Linked DNA regions of Homo sapiens: region 1 is linked to region 2. The links are contacts of gene promoters, found by promoter capture Hi-C in blood cells and fetal thymus (Javierre and others, 2016). All regions are on one chromosome and are shown on one strand. The core of a region is centred on a gene start or on the middle of the fragment in contact, and the rest is flanking DNA. Distances in the headings are between cores, read along the strand shown.

Region 1 (2,700 bases), core at 74-2,573, 250 kb after region 2:
TTCTCTAACTCTCAAATGAGCCACCATATATTATAGGGACCAAACCATGGGATTTTGGGGTCAAAAATATCCTCGGTGTAAGTATCAGCTCATCTGTTTACTTCAAGTTTTTTTTTAACTCCTTTAAAAACTTCACATTCTCATCTGTAAAGCAAGGATAATAATACACAATCTATAAGGGCTTAAGCAAATTAGAGATGATATAGTTTAAGGATTTAGTATAGTTCCTGGAACAGAGTAATTTCTCAGTCATTGGCCGCCCAATGGCATGAATTGAAAAGGTTGAGCCAGTGTCTATAGTTCCAGAACCATTCTCAGGTTCTATTTTGGAATGTTTATCTCTTCTGTGTTGTGGCTGTGGAGTAAGATCCATCTGGAATGTAGTAACGTCAAGAAATAGCAAGTTCTTTGCCTTTCTGTCTTTGTTTCAGGAAGCACATACTTTGTAATCTGTGACATTTTTATGCTGAAATTCCCTTTCTTGACATACAGACTGACACTGTATAATTCAGTCAGTTTCCTATTATCTCTGTTGTTAAGCAAGACTGGATTTTCATCACTGGGAAAGCTGTTAACAGAGTCCCCATTAAGCGAGCCATCACTGAACATTTTCCTTGATTGATGCTTTAAGATTCTGTCACTCACTCTTTGAAAATATCAGACTACAGGGTCTGAAGCAGGTTTCTGCAATATTCTGCAGTACCTCATGGGTACAAAAGAGACACAGGAATATGCCACAGCATCTAGATCCAATTCTTAGTGAAAATTTTGTTCTTTCATCTGTATTCTGGTCAGCCAGCTTGAAGTAGACACAGGCAGATGCTTGGAGAGTCGAAATTATAGCCGAATGATATCACAGAGTAGTTAAATACCAGCCAAGCTGTGGTTGCAGCATGGCAACTTTACAAGCCGGGCAGGTTAGCATGGATGCTGTGAAAAGTGACCCCTCTATCTGAAAAAGGGTTTTGTACCTTGGCTGGCATTAGTCACTTTTCCTTGTTTGATATTTACAGCTTTCTCTTGTCCTTTGTATCCTTTGGGTAACACACCGTGAGTGAGAGCAGAAAAGCTTTCCTTATAAAGGTAGCAATTTTATTCAAGATTAAAATGCTCTATTTTTCCACATTACATCAATGAGTACCTTCAAAAAAAGATGACTTAATGAGGGGGAAACATGAATAAATAAACACCCACACGTACATACATATGTATGTGTGTATATACATAGAGAAACATAACGGGGCGAGTGATCGTTGATTATTTTAGCGGAGGCTGTAGAGGGAACAACACAATTACATATATGGTAATGAAGAATGAACAAGTAATTGTGTTGTAATTTCCCTCTGCTTTTTGCTAGTGGTGACTGTTATGAAAAGCAGGTTGTTGGAATAAAAAAAAAGATACTAAATAAAGAACCGTAGTTCTTATAATAGCATTTTATAGTCTGTCTTTTGAAATATACTAAAATTTTTCACAATCCATGTTTCTCTGCTTTTGCCAATTGTGTTTGTGATTGTTCATTTGTGCATAGAAGTTTCAGTAGGAAAATACAGTCGTTTTTGTAAAGGTTGGATTTATAAGCTTCAATAAAAACAGGCTCATTCAAACAAAAAAGCAATCAGATTGCAAAATGGCAAATAAAAGAGGAAGCTTATCCTTATAGGAGAAAAAACGTTTAATTTTAACATTATGTTTAAATAGACAAAGAGACCTACTGCAGACTTTTAAAGTGTTCATTTTGCTTCCGTTGCTGCAGTTCAGCTTACAGATGGTCCCTACGATAGTTGCTATAGAAACCAAACCTTTTTCATCAATCTCTCCCTGTTGCTATGGTGTGTTTGCAGCCACTGCATGTAAACTTTTGTATAAAGTGTCATTTATGCTTTTCATGACTGACCTTATAATGAAACATATTGATTATACATTAACCAACAAAGTCTAGCATGAAATGACACATCACCACTAAACACCCGTTACTAAGTAGAATAGGTGGACCTAACATTATTTGTAGATGTGAATTGTGCCTTTGTTAACCAGGCTATTTGAAATATCAGTGGGATAAGGAAATCTTGCTCTAATTGACAAAAGCAGAATCTTTTATTTTCTTTCTTGAAAGTGATAGTTTTTCTTTTAAAATTTAGTTTCTTCAAAGTTAAACCTGTCATAGGATTCAAATTTCCTGCTTTGTAATTTTTGCTCTGACATTTTATGTGTGGCCTTAGGCCACAAAATCATTTAACCTCTGGATTTAGTGAGATAACAAAACTATGGCATGATAGATTTGGATGTGTTAAGCTCTGCGAGGGCAAGTACACTACCTGTTTTGTTTACCGTTATACATTCAGAACTTGGTGATATCCAGACAAACAGCCTAGAATACAGTAAACATTCAAAAGTACTTGTTGAGTAAATGAATATACATGTTATTGCTTCTGATCACATATGCATTCCATACTGTACTTTCTGTATAGAGTCAATTTCAAGAGTAGGCTTCATTTCATTTTAATGCCACAAATATTTAATGAGTTCCTACTAGTGGTAAAATGCTTCACTTCTTGCTGGATTCCTTAAACTTTACCAGAAAAAAAAAAAAAAAAAGGTCTGGCTTTCATGCCCAAGACTCTATATTCCAAACTCTCTAATGTTTATACATTTGTAGATGTCAAGTGTTTTTTGTTTTTGAGGGTTTTTAAAAAAAAA
Region 2 (2,700 bases), core at 46-2,545:
ACACAGAGCGCTGATTGGTGCTTTTACAATCCTTTAGCTAGACAGAAAAGTTCTCCAAGTCCCCACCATCCCAGAAGCCCAGCTGGCTTCACCTCTCACTGGCACTAGCCACGGGACTTTGTGGCACCTATCCGGAGCACCTAGCCCGGGCACTCCAGCAGCCTAGAGGGAGCTCGTCCCAGACAATCAAGAGCAAAAGACGGGAAGCAAGAAAGAGATGGAGACCCGCCATCGTGGCCAACGTTCTGGTCCACGCACGGGATTCAGCCTCTGATCAAGCCCCAGTTCCCGCCCACGCCTCTCCCTCCACACCTCCCGGCAAGCAGAGGGAGCCGGCTCCGGCCTCGGCCAGCCCCAGAGAGGGTCCCCCACAGCGCAGCGGCGGGCTGAAGGGCTCCTTGAAGACGGAGAGAGCTGAAGCTGAGGCTGAGGAGGCGCCAAGAGCGAGCCAGGGCTGCTAGCAAGTTGTCATCTCTCATTACTAGCATTCTCTCAGGAATATCCTACCGCAGGGTTCCCGTGTTTCATATACAATTAGTGATGAGGCTAATCATCCTGATCTCAAATTTCCTCTACCTGCCCACCAGCTGACTTAAACCCCTATACTGTGGGCATGCATTCTGCCCACTCTGAAATCTTAGGATTTAACTTCTCTTGCTTCCTAGAAAATGAACCACTTTGTTCCTTTAGTCATTTATTCACTAATAATTTGTTGAGAGGTTTTGTTTTGAGGAGCATGAAGGATCTGATGTAAGAACTACCACCGGTGCTGGTGATCACAATATATGCAGCTGATTAAAGTTCCTCATTTATGCTACCTACATCCCTGGTAAGAATTTCATTCCTTCAACCAATACTTTTCATTTGAAAGCATCTCATTACGAAAGACTTCAATCTTTTAGGCTTCTGCATCTTGCAAAACAAATATGGTTCCAAAGAGCCTATCTTTTCAACAAATCTTTGGTTTGAGCCTGGATGAAACAGTTATTACAGAATCAACTGGAGAGGAAAAAATCTTCATCTAACACTGAAGTCTTTCTATTCTGCGAGGTGAAATCCTTTGACCTAGATTCTGTCCCTTGAAAGGCAAGTGACAGTAGGTGAGCCTAAGAAAATTGGTTAATTCTTGATCTAAAAAGTTAAATTCATGAACCACACTGATTTGATTACCTTGAAAATCTACCAGACAGAAAGTTCTCCCTTTTATCCACCTTCATTGTTACCTTCAGAGCAGCTCTCTCCATAGCAACTGAAAACTTTTCTGGGCTGAAATAATCCTCTCTAGCTCCCAGTGCACAGTCAAAGAATTTTAAAAACAGGGAACTTTGTAACTGTGAAATACTCTCCAGGATTTAAAAGGCTGTGGAGCTCCAGATAAAGAATCGTTTATCTTTCTTCTGAAGGTAAGCACTGGGGTTAGAAATGCTTGCATCATCCTCTGTCACTTTTAAATTGCTAACATAACAACCTTAAAGTGTTGTTGTTGTTTTTAACTCATAAAAGTAATCCCAGTACCTTTGTTACTAGCCCACAGTCATTTACCAGCTCATCTCTGGGCCAGGATCGGACATGAGATGCTGTTAACATTTTACATGCCTTAAGCCATCAACAGAAAGATAATTTTTTTTTCCAGGAAGTTGATTGGCTCTAAAGTCATCCCCCACTCCTTTAGTCACCACTGAGTGAGTGTGTGTGTGTGTGTGTGTCATGTTCTTGAGGTCTCGAAATTCTGTTTTTCTAAGATGCTTCCTGCTCTAGAATCTTGATTCTTAGTAAACTAAAAAAAAGACCTGTGTTTTCTGAACATTACTATTTTCTTCTAGTGCTTTTCCTTGTCTAAAACTCTTTTTTTTTCTTTTTTCTTTTTTCTTTTTTTTTTTTTTGAGATGGAGTCTTGTTCTGTCGCCCAGGCTGGAGTGCAGTGGCACGATCTTGGCTCACTGCAACCCCCGCCTCCCGGGTTCAAGCAATTCTTCTGCCTCAGCCTCCCATGTAACTGGGACTACAGGCACGTGCCACCATACCTGGCTAATTTTTGTATTTTCAGTAGAGACGGGGGTGTCACCATATTGGCCAGGCTGGTCTCAAACTCCTGACCTCGTGATCTGCCTGCTTCAGCCTCCCAAAGTGCTGGGATTACTGGTGTGAGCTACCGCGCCTGGCCTAAAACTTTTAAACTCAACATGATGTTGGTCATTTAGTAGAATTTATTTTCTCTTTTTCATGAGGACCATGAATCACTTGGAGTTCTTTATAATGGGATAAACATAAGGTGTTTCCCAACCTGGGTCCTATAACTTGTACCACCTGTTGGTAAATGGAGAAACTTACGTGACGCTATGTTTAGTTTAGGGAGAGAGAATCTAGCAAGCTTTTTGGCTGCTGTGCAGTTTGAAAGTCTACAGCCATGGTGCTTTCCTGCCATTTGGGGTTAGAAATTACCTACAGACCCCCGCTGTGTAGAAACAGCTTGTCATTGCAAATCAGCTTAGCCACCCAATTAATGAATCCTTTCAAACATGTTGCAGGCACAATAATTGAAGGCTTTATTTTTCCCCTTTACCACAGAAATTCCTTTGGTTACAAGTTTACCCCATAAACGGCAACACACTCACCTCCATCCAAGACAGACTCAAGGTGGAGGAAGCGTGGAAATGTGCTTCCGGACAAAGCTCTCAGTATCCTGGGTGCCATTGTTTC

What was found. The method cuts DNA at HindIII sites, captures the fragments that hold promoters and counts their contacts. A CHiCAGO score of 5 or more calls a contact.
Region 1: a contact is called between a fragment that was not itself captured here and the fragment with the promoter of SLC39A12 in region 2, in 1 of 17 cell types (M2 macrophages). The highest score is 6.9, in M2 macrophages.

The regions. Positions count from the first base shown.
Region 1 is chr10:18,202,396-18,205,095 of GRCh38, forward strand. All of the region lies in intron 2 of CACNB2 (calcium voltage-gated channel auxiliary subunit beta 2), which reads left to right. Among named protein-coding and RNA genes, the nearest start is that of CACNB2-AS2, 58 kb to the right of the region's middle. The HindIII fragment of the contact is 512 bases long and covers 1,068-1,579 here.
Region 2 is chr10:17,950,623-17,953,322 of GRCh38, forward strand. It overlaps SLC39A12 (solute carrier family 39 member 12), which reads left to right and starts at 1,296. Exons shown (of 13, transcript NM_001145195.2): 1 at 1,296-1,403; 2 at 2,569-2,700. The coding sequence starts at 2,655. The HindIII fragment of the contact is 2,620 bases long and covers 1-2,369 here.